2 separate regions of the Homo sapiens genome follow, and region 2 is linked to region 1. The links are contacts of gene promoters, found by promoter capture Hi-C in blood cells and fetal thymus (Javierre and others, 2016). All regions are on one chromosome and are shown on one strand. The core of a region is centred on a gene start or on the middle of the fragment in contact, and the rest is flanking DNA. Distances in the headings are between cores, read along the strand shown. Region 1 holds the start of NFE2L3 (NFE2 like bZIP transcription factor 3). Region 2 has its middle 77 kb from the start of MIR148A.

Region 1 (5,633 bases), core at 1,259-3,758:
GGTGGTGCACGCCAGTTCTCCTAGCTACCTGGGAGACTGAAGTGGAAGGATTGCTGGAGCCGGGGAGGTTGAGGCTGCAGTGAGTCGTCATTGCACCTTTGCACTCCAGCCTGGGCAACAGAGCAAGACCCTGTCTTTAAAACAAAACAAACAAAAAAACAGCCAAGGGAAGGCCACTTTGTCTCCCAGGTGATGCCGGGAGGGAAGTTTCCGAGGACTGAACAGCTTCCTCTCTTCTCCCTCCAGGTCCCTGTGCACTTTGCACACAGGTTGGCATTCGGGTGTGGGTGGCAGAGTGCCATCTGGTACAGCATCCAGCACTAGGTTTCAACTCTGTGTTACAGAACCAGGAATGGTGGTAGTGCACAAGTACTCACTTATTAGAGGGCAGAGCATTTAGGTGAGACAGACCCCATGGGGTCCAGATTGGATGAGTGAGTGGGGAAGAACCTCCCACAGTATATCCTGAACACAGAAGGATCCCTCCAAGACTCTCACTGGCCCCCACCCCATTGGTTCCGGTCCCCAGGAAGAGGAAGGGCTCAGATCAGCATAACAGTGAATCACCGAGCACTTCCACACAATGACCCCTCCAGGAGGGTGGAGAAGCTTGTCTGGCAACAGCCTACACAAACGGCAATTCTGAAGAGCAACAAACAAACCAGTTTAGCCCCAATTCCCATTTTGCATAAGAATGCGCCCCACAAAAACAACACCCGAAGAACATTAGTTGATCACCACTGGTTGATCGTTACCAGTTGCAAACACTAAAGTTTGAGCCAAGACAGAATTTTAAAAGTCCCCTGGAAGGAACTTTGGGTAAAGTGGTTTTGTGGAAACTGGTGTTAAAGTGTCATTAGACTGAACTCAAACGTTCCATGGGGAGCACCAGATGTTTCAAGCAACAGATCTTGGTAAACTTGGTTTCAGAAAGAAGTTAAGCCAGAGAAGGGTTTGGACCCATAAACCAAAGGGAACTTGTTAGTCACTAAGTGACTGCCAAGGTACCTGTTTTCGTTATGCTAATAAGAGGTTACACAAATTCCAGGAAGGAGGATTGCTAGGTGCAGGGGATGGTTAGGTCACAGGGGGACCGCCTGCCGGCTGGCCTCTGAATAGACCCTGACCATGGCTCCTTAATCCAGGGAAGCAGCAAAAACGAACAGCAATTGGGCTGAAAACAGGGCGAAGGTCCTTGCGTTAGGCCGGGAGAGTCGTTCTTAAAAACATGCATCCTCCCAGAGGTCACGGCCTCCTTCACATCGTCCAGGTCGGGCACGGGTCCCAGAGAACGACACCCCAGTGTACATGAGGTACTGAGCGAAGACAGTGGGCATTGCTTCTCCCCTCCCCATCCCCGAACTACTCTTGCCAGCCATCACACACAAGGAAAGGTATTCTCTATAACCAAACGGATGATTTCGTCCACTTCTTCCTTAAACACCTAAAAACCACAGCGACAGCACTAGTAGCCCTTCATTCGGAATCAGAGCAGCAGCATCTGCGAACCTGCAAAGACCAGGGGCTAAGGGTGCCAGGACACAGCGAGAGTGGCCCCTGCTCAGATCCGACACAAGCCTCGGGGGCTCCCGGCGGCGTAGACGCCGCACTTCGCTCGCTTCCCGCTCTGCACCTACCTCGCTCGCACATCCGCCAGCGTCCGGCACCTGAGCCGTCGGTTCCGCGGGTGCCTTCTCCTCTTCCCCGGCGTCCAAGGGGCCACTCCGAGCCGCTCGGGGGTCCCCGCCGCCCCCCTGCACAGCCTGGCTGCCGCCGTCCACGCTGGCGCCGGCTCCTCCGGTGGACGAGGCGGCGGCGGCGCCGAGCAGCCCGTGGGCCTCGTCCGCGCTCCCGGCAGCCACGCTGTGCACCAGCCATGCATCCACGCTGGTGCGAGGGACGAAGGGGACCCCGAGCGCGCGCACCTCCCGGAGCAGCTGGCCCTCGGGCGGCGCGGCAGGGTCCAGCTCCCGGCCCTTGGGGTGCAAGTGGCCCGCGCGCCCCCACCCTCCCGAGGCCGAGAAGGGGCTGAGCGCGTAGGCGGAGCTGGCCGGGCCGCCCAGGAACAGCAGCTCGTCCTGCAGCAGGGTGGGCGGCGGCAGCAGCAGGTAAAGATCTAGGTCTACGCGGAGCCCCGCCAAGCTCAGCAGGAGGGTGAGGTGCAGGAGGCCGCCGCCGGCCGACCACCACCGCTTCAGGTGCTTCATCGCCGCCGCGCGCCCGGGAACGCCCCTGCCGGCGCCCGCGGGTCCCGGCGCCCCAGCCGCCGGGGTGACACGTGCGGACCCCGCGCGCCGCCCGCACCTGCCTGGAACCCAGATAAGCGAAACAATGGACCGGGGCGCGTGGCGGCCGTCGCGGGTTCCCAGCACCGGGCACAAAGGCGTTCCCTCGGCAGCCGGCACCGTGCCTGGCACCGCCGGGGATCGGGAGAAGCGAAGAAGGAGCCACCTGAGCGCCGAGCCCGTTCGCCCAGCCGCCCGCAGCCCGGCGCGGTGGCCAAGCTCCGCCCCCGGCCGCGGGCGCAGCCGACAGGAACACGCCCCCTGCCGCCCGGGGCCCGCGCCCGTGGGAGGGGCCGCACGGGGCGGGGCTCCCCGAGCTCAAAGCCTCTTTATGTCCGGGGAACGCAAGGCTTTCTGGGAGCAGAAGTTGTTCTGGGCACCAAGTGGCCCCTTGCCACCCTGTGGCCGTGAGCTGGGCCATCCTTGCTGAAAGCCAAGGGCGGGAGTTGGGGTGGAGGGCTAGGTGGTGGGTAGCTGGGTGGGAAGGGACAGGATGTGTAGACTGGGCGGAGAGTGACTGGGCAGCTACGAGGGGCCTGGCAGCTTGCAACGGGCTTCCACCCCAACGTGAGGACACTTGGCGGGCAGAGTGGGCAAGAGTAACCTCTCTGTCTCAGTTCCGCTATCTGTAAAATGGGGATCATAGAGCCTGTCAAACAGGGATGTGTTGAGGTCAGATGAAATATTTCGTGTAAAGTTCGGAGTTTCACATATAAATTCCACCGTTGCCATTGGGATCAGTCATCCCACCACTCCGCACACCCCAGTCCCAGCCTCACAGACCCCTCTCTCTTCTCTGGGCGTGCTCTGCATAGTGCTAGACCTCCTCTCGGTATCCTTTGCTCCTTATCCGTTGTTTCCTTGAGGGTTGACAGCACCAGCTCTACAGTTACCCTGAGTGAGTTCAAGTCCCCCCTCCACTTGAGGGGCGACCTTGGACAAATCTCTCCTTTTCTCTGTGCCTCAGTTTTCTCACTGTAAAATGAGACTAATAATAGCACCTCCCCAGCAGACCTTTTGTGAGCCCCAAATGAGATAATGCATGTAAACCACCGACCACAGCACTGCATGGGTAGGAAGTGCTCCCTGCTACCCATTGTTTGTGTTACTCACCCTCAAGGCTTAGCTCCAAAGCTACATCCTCTGAATTTTCACCAGTTGGCATTAATCTCTCCCCCATCTGTTGCACCGTGATTTCTCCGTTTGCCAACATTGTAACAGTTGGCCCATTCAACTCTGTGTTGTAGATGAGAATCGGTCTGATTTGCCCATTGTAAATTCTTGAGGACAAGGAACCTGTTTGGTTCACCTTTGTCCATGCACAGTACCCAGCACTGGGCCTTGCAAGGGTAGGTTTTACTAACCTTAGCTCCCTTCCTTGGAAGAAAAGGGGACAGGAGGGGATGCCCAACTGAGAATGGGCAGTTGTGTAAAAAGTTGAGCAAGACTTGTTTTAAAAGGCCCCTCCCTCCACCTGGCTTTCTCATCTCTCTCCTGGGCTAGTGTAGTAAGAAGAGAAAAGAATGGGGACCAGGGGAGCAGAAACAGGGGAGCAGAGGAAAGTTGCTTCCTCTGTGTTAAGCCTTGGAAGATGGGTTGGGGTGGCAAAGAGGATGAAGAAAGGTGATTGCCAGGTTATCAAGACCCCGTTCACAGCATTTAGTCTTTGAACAGCGGATTTAGAGTCTCAGCTTAGTAAATGCTGCCTTCAGCTTTTTACTGAGAACCTACTAACTGCCTGAGGCTGTGCTGGAGGCATGAAGGATATGAAACGGAGTTCTTTCCTTCCGTAAGCTTATGGTTTTACTAGGGAGATGAGATAAAAATTTGTGAGACACTAAGAAACAAGAGAAATAATGTACTCAATTGCCAAAATACTTAGATGTAAATTACTTCAAGGTTTATATAGGGAGCTCTAAAACTATTGAGAGTAGAGGCGGTGCCTTCTTCAAGGCGGTGCCCTCCAGAATCTTACACACAGTTGATGCTCAAAAAAAATATTAGTTGAATTGAGGAGGTTACACTTGAGATGTATTTTGAGAAATCTGAATAGACTGGGAACAGGAAGCACATACAAACTTCTAACATTTGTTGGGAAGTGGGCTAACCCCTCACCATTTTACAATGTGAATTGGTAATCATAGTGTTAAATATCTTTCAGACTATACACTTCAAAAGCATGGCTTAACTCTGGCTCTTGACTGGTGGGAAGAACAAGGGTACCTAAAAGACCTTGCAGGAAAGTGTTAACCAGGAGACAATCCTACATACCCTTGACTTTACTCACAATAAAAAGTCCCACTTTTAGGAGCATGGGGAGAATGGAATGAAATTAGAAGGAAAAACTTCTCTTTAGGTTTATTTCTAGAATCCTCCATCTAGGAATAGCCAAGTGAAAAGTCCAAACCATTGTCTTGTAAAAGCCTTGAAAAGTCATCTGCATTCATAAAATCCTGAAATCAGTGCTACTCAAAGGTTGACCTGAAACTGATGCTCATGTGTAAACTATTTGCTTCTGATCCAAATGAGATAAGTAATAGAATTGAGAATTTAAAGAAAAAAAAATTTTTTTTTGTAGAGATGGAGTCTTGCTGTGTTGCCCAGGCCTGTCTTGAACTCCTGGGCTCAAGCGATCCTCCTGCCTCAGCCTCCCTAACTGCTGCAATTACAGGTGTGAGCCACCATGCCTGGCCTAAAGAAATTTTTATAGCAATTTGACATCATTACAACATCAACAGATGAGCTGAGGTTTTGGGTTTTTTAAATGCCTTTGTAATTTCATTTTTCTAGAAATGAATTTCTATTTTATTTGACAAAAGTGCTGACTTGCAACAAATTGAAAAAATTTTTTTAAAGTTGATTCTTCAAAGGGTTAGTTTGAGAAGCACCACCTTAAATGGCATCCTGGTAGGGTAGGCAACTCCCAAGATAATGTCCAGTGATTATTCCCTTCCCTATATTCCCTAGTGTGGGCTAGACCTGGTGATGTGCTTCTAATAAACAAAATATGGCAAAAATGGTGGGCTTTCATTTCTGAGTTTAGATTACAAAAAGATGGAGTGGCTTTTATCTTGCTTACCCTCTCTCCCACTTTCTCCCTCTTGGAGCCCTCACTCTGGGGGAAGGAAGCTACCATGGTTGTTGTTTTTTTTTTGTTTTTTCTTTTTTTTTTTTGAGATGAGGTTTTGCTCTTGTTGCCCAGGCTGGAGTGCAATGGCGCGATCTTGGCTCACTGCAGCCTCTGCCTCCCAGGTTCAAGCAATTCTCCTGCCTCAGCCTCCTGAGTAGATGGGATTACAGGCGCCCACCAACACGCCCAGCCCAGCTGTTTTGTATTTTTTTTAATTT
Region 2 (5,633 bases), core at 899-3,398, 280 kb after region 1:
CCATAATCTCCCCATGAGAACAATTGGGCCAGGCATTGGTATCTCCCTTTGCAGATGAGGAAGCTGAGTCTCAGAGAGTTCAAGTGATTTTCCCAAGGTCACACAGCCTATCTAATGGAAGAATTAAAACTAGAACCCAGATTCTTGTTTCCTAACCTGGGACTCTGTCTGGTATCCTCTGCTGACTCCTTCATTCTGGGGCTTTGGCTAATTGATGTCATAGCCAGGTGTTTGATGGGTACCTGAATAATATTTCTGTCTAGGAGTGATTCGAGTGGAAACAGGGCATTCTTAAAGAGGCCATTAGAAATCCCCAGACCTCCACTAAAGCAGGTTTTGGTGCAGATGACTGACGACTGTATAAATGCCTTCACCTTGTAACAGCCGGTCTCAGCCTCCAGAACAGAGTCCTACATTGTGGATTAATCGCTCCATATCTCTGTTTTAAAATCATGTTATGGTCTTTTAAAGGTATGTTTTAAGATGTAATGTTCTGCAAGGAGACATGGTCCATTTAAAAGCAGTGCTGCTTTAAGGTTGCTGGTTGAGGAGAACAATTGAATGCAGATGAAGGGAAAAGTACCAGGAAACGTCTTTTTCTCTGAATCTATAAAGCAAAGGCATAAGCCACCCACCAAAATGTTAGACTTGCCTTGATTCTTTTTTTTCTTTTTAGAGATGACCTCTTGCTAGGTTACCCAGGCTGGACTTGAACTCCTGGGCTCAAGTGATCGACCTGTTTCAGCCTCCTGAGTAGCTGGGAGTACAGGTGCATATCACCATGGCTGGCAACTTGCCTTGATTCTTTGCTTCATCTGAATTTTGGAAGATTGGTGACATTATCATTGGTATCAGTGGAACAACTATCCTGATTTGCCTCGGATTGAGAGATTTCTTGGCATGGGGGCTTTGAGTGCTAAAACTGAGTCAGTCCCAGGTAAGGCTTGGTCACCCTATCCCATCCCTGCACAGCCCTTTGAGGCAAGCTGACGAACACACCTTTCTCCTCCACCAAGAGGCAGCTCATGTCTCCCACCCTGTCCATCCTAAACAAAAGAATCCTCATACAGGGGAAATACACAATATGGATGTGCTGAAGTAATACAAGAAAGAATGACATGCCCTGGTCTTCCAACACTGGTCTGTACCCAACTAGAAAAGAGGACTGGCTTGGGAATTAGCAGACAAGCTCAATTATTAACTTTTGTGTTAACTTTTGCCAAGCGACTAATTTACTGCCACTGAGTTTTCCTGTCTGTAAAGAGGGGCAACAACTAGAGGTCTCTAAGCTTTCTTCTCCATTATACACTCCAAAGCTTGATTGTATAGGAACCAATACAGTGCCTCCACCCTGCCCGAACTCATTGTATCCTTAAGTCCCAGAAATTGCACACCAAGCCATCTTGGAGGCCTCTCTTTTAGCTCAGCCCAAATAATGAACCCAGCTCAGGGTCAGACATGGGGTAGAGTCTCAGCGCTTTTGCTCAGGGGTAGACCCTTTAGCTTAGTGCTGTCTGATAAAATTTTCTGCAGTGATGAAAATATTCTGCATTTGAACTGTCCAATATGGTAGCCATTAGTCACATGACTATATTTTAAATTTATTAAAATGAAATTTAAATTTTAGTTCCTGAGTCAGAATAATCACATTTCAAGGGCTCACTAGCCACATATAGCTAATGGCTACAATATTGGACAGTGCCAACTGAGAACACTTCCATCATTGCGAGTTGTTCTATTGAGCACCATAGTTTTAGAGGACCATTTTGAACATTTTCTCAGTAGCTGGGGAAGTATCCAGAGTAGAAAAATGAGGAGAAAGACAGGAAATGGGAGGGAAAGTGGCCATCACCAGCAATAAACTTCATCTATTGGCATGGAATTGTGGGAACAATGTAGCCAGCTTATTGGAAATGGGACATCTTAAATCTTATTATAGGCAACAATCTTCCAAAAGTCAATTAAAATGCGTGAAAATATATCCTTCAGTGACACCAAGGTGGAAGTTCAGGCATGGAAACTTTCTTTTCACGAACACCCCTAACTGGGCTAACTCTTTGTTTAACAATAGAAAGCACCAGGCAGTACCATTAATCAGCTAAATGTAAATGTGGAAAATTACTTTTTTTGCAAGAATCATGATAGGAGATTTTTTTCCCCCAAGCATTTTGTAGAATAAAAAAAAATACATGGAAAGTGTTTTGTTTATTATTGAAATAAAGCAAAAATCAAAATTCATGGTTAAGTGTTCAACTCTTGAAAGCAGCATTACTGTCCTTGCTTAGGGAGTAAATAAAGAATATTTTGTAGAATTGGAGCCCCAGTAAGGATGTTGGCAACAAAGCATTGCAATTCCAGCAGTAGATTCTTAGTTCCAACTCTGGCACTGGAATCTCTGTGACCTAGGGCAACTGACTTAATCTCCCTGGCCTCAGTTTTCATCTTGAGTTGGAGAAAGATGGCATTGGACAGGGTCCCTGGCATCATTAACATTCTAGGATCACTTTTGTGACCACATTCCTGACTTCTGCCATAGACATTAATGCTTACATCTTTTATCATAGCCATAAATATTGTTTCTTTTAACACTCACAGATGATCAGTGTTGTCAGTTGCCCTCACTGAAGGCTCCCATAATCAAACCTCTAAGCACTGTAGGCCTGGCAAACCTTCAGGTTTTCTGAAACCCTCATACAGGGGGATACTCAGCATTAAACTACTCTGCTCAGAGTGAGGAGTGAACACCTCTCAGAGAAATAGGAGCCCCAGCAACCGTAGACCTACCCAGAGGTGAGAGCAGAGGCTCCACCCTACTTGTAAGTGCAGCTGTAGTGTTGGAGCCATTTCCAACTTGGCCACTCATCAATGACATGACTTGGAACAAGTCCTTTCACTTCTCCAAACCCCAGTTTCCTAATCTGTAAAGGAATCATAATACTGTGGTTGCAGGCAAGGTAAGTTAGGAAGCTAATGAAGCTTAGGTTTCAGGGTCTCTCACTTGCATGGGCCCCTTTCAAGGCCCTGTGCATTGTTATTATTATTTTTTTTAGAGACAGACTCTTGCTCTGTCACCCAGGCTTCAGTGCAGCCATGCAATCACATCTCACTGCAGCCTGTAACTCCTGGGCTCAAGTGATCTTCCTGCTTCAGCCTCCTGAGTAGCCAGGACTATAGGCGTGAGCCACAGTGCCTGGCCATTTTGACATTTGTATAATTTCATAATCTTTTCCTCAAAGAAGGGCCCCCAAATTATATACGATTCAGGCCCTACAAAACCTTTAGCAAGACGGCACTTGGATACACTGCTGTCTCCTGAAAGAGATTACTCAACAAACAAGATCTGGTGAAGCCAGCCTGGTCTGCAGCTTTTCTGTTTCTTCCAGATGCCATCCTCTCTCACATCTCAGCACACCTGTGAGCAGTGCTGGCCTGTGCCTCTGGACACCACAGGAAAGGTGACACTTATCAGTCACCAGCCCTTCTTGGGCACTACAGTGTGTGTTCTTAGAGGCCACAGAATTATGGAATCTGAGAGCCAAAAAGAACCTCCAGGGACCTTTTACTTTACTCACTCCTTCCAACAGGTGTTCCTTCCTCCCCTTTCTTTCAAATTCTCCCCAAATAGAGATTTCACAGTCTCCTTTAAAAGCCTGGTCTGGTATTACATCATCAATATTCTTAGGGATATTTTCCTTAGGACTAACCCTATTTTCTATTCTAATTCGGATATGACAATGCTTTGAACCTTCTTTTTAGTTCTGTTTTATGCAGATTACTGGACACTTTCACAGACATACTTATGTGTTTTCCTGAACCTACTGAATTAACATCCTTCTTTTAGAAAGAGGTAACTGAGGTTCAAGGTGATACGAGATTTGGCCAACGTAATAGATGGTGGGGTCAAGACCCTGGGAGGAAAGTTCTATTTATTATGGCCATTGTCTCCAGAGGGGGATTCTTGACCTTGGAGATGTCACACAATCTTTGAGACAGCCAAAGTTTATAAACAGCTTGCTTGATTCCCAGGGGCTGTTGTTTCTGTTATAGGATGGCTGTCTCCATTTCTGTCAGCTGCCACTGGCTTTGTCACTAAAGCCTCTTTCCTGGGTCACTGGGCTCAGAATTCTGTTTTTCTCCTTGGTGAAAATCCAAACTTTCAGTGGGGTGCTAAAGGAGGTACTTGTGCCTCAACTCTTCACACACACTACCCCCTCTCCCACCACCATCCCCATTCATTATTTAAAAATGAAATCACAGTCTATTCTTTCTTCATTCATTCATTCCAAAATTATTTATTGGGTGCCTGTTATGGGCATGACAGTAATCCCATAACCTCCCCCAGAATGCAAGAAAGCAAGCATTTAAAGAGGTCTAGATATGGCAAGCGACATCAGCAAGGTGGCAGAAGAGGAAACCCCAGGCCCTCATGTCCCCACAGAGACATTGACTTATCAATAATATGTGGACCAAATTGCTTTTGTGAGAATGCCTCAAGAGGCCTAAATAGTCTGCTTTCTAGAAAAAAGGAATTTCTAGTTATTTAGGCAAACAGTGCACTTAGTAAAAAAAATTTTTTGTTGCTTTCTGTGTGTCAGGCACTAAGACCTTTATGAATATTAATGTAATTTTCACCCAATTCCCATGAGGTGGTGGATTCTATAATTATTTATTATTGTCCCAATGAGGGAAGTAGAGACACAGAAAGGTTACAAACTTGCCTCAGGCAACACAGGTGGCCAGTGCCTGCCACAGAAAATCCAGCAGCACTGTTCCCGGGGCATCGCTCCAGACTGTATTTAAAATTGGAAGCTGGCACAATCTGGGGATGTTTCTGAGCTGTTCAGATGAACAGATGCTTGAGTTATGCTGGTTTTAGGGATCTGCCTTTCAAAACAAAAGTGTGTTCCTCAAAGGAGTAATTGAATTCACCCGGTTTTAACTCTTGATTCAATAAGCAGAAGATAGAGGAAAGGAGCTGGTTTAGGTTTTAGGTCTCTATCTTTGATCCTAACTCTTGCTGGATTTTACCAGACAAAAGAAGAGAATGACCAATTAAAGAGGGGAAAAGGTGATGATTGGGTGAGATCTTTAAGAATACATGTTTATCACAAATGCAACTGAATAGGACTTGAATTTCACCATACTTACACATGGAAGCAGAAACTACCACTGCAAACATTTCCGTATCAGTAATCCATACACTCTGACACAAAAATAAACATTCTATAGATAGACATAGGTATAGATACAATTATAGCTTCTTAGATTTCTCTACAGCTCAGAAAAAAAGGAAGGTTTGGAAAATATTGTGTTGGTGTGAAACTAATTGAGATTTTTGCTATTACTTTTACAAAAATGGCAAAGACCACAATTACTTTTGCATCAACCTAGTAGTTAATGCATAAAATTGGGGAAGAAATTAGAAAAACCTGGGTGGCTTTTTGTTGAGAGCAGGGATTTCTCTGATTCAGCACACTATTGCTCACATTAACCGGAAATATGATAAATGTCTCCCTCCTCCTGTGCCATGGAGGTAGACCTGGAGAAGAATGCACGTGTGAAGATTTGGTTTGCTTGGAAACAATGTGGCATCAATTCTGATGCCAGAGCCTAGAAGTTCTTTTATGGATTTT

Evidence for each region. The method cuts DNA at HindIII sites, captures the fragments that hold promoters and counts their contacts. A CHiCAGO score of 5 or more calls a contact.
Region 2: a contact is called between a fragment that was not itself captured here and the fragment with the promoter of NFE2L3 in region 1, in 2 of 17 cell types (fetal thymus and erythroblasts). The highest score is 6.7, in fetal thymus.

What each region holds. Positions count from the first base shown.
Region 1 is chr7:26,149,073-26,154,705 of GRCh38, reverse strand. It overlaps NFE2L3 (NFE2 like bZIP transcription factor 3), which reads right to left and starts at 2,508. Exons shown (of 4, transcript NM_004289.7): 1 at 1,638-2,508. The coding sequence starts at 2,207. RefSeq lists enhancers at 1,420-1,609, 960-1,753, 1,754-2,548, 5,557-5,633 and silencers at 1,730-1,799, 1,810-2,059, 2,170-2,239, 2,250-2,319, 2,340-2,719. The HindIII fragment of the contact is 3,470 bases long and covers 612-4,081 here.
Region 2 is chr7:25,869,942-25,875,574 of GRCh38, reverse strand. No RefSeq gene overlaps it. Among named protein-coding and RNA genes, the nearest start is that of MIR148A, 77 kb to the left of the region's middle. The HindIII fragment of the contact is 1,660 bases long and covers 1,319-2,978 here.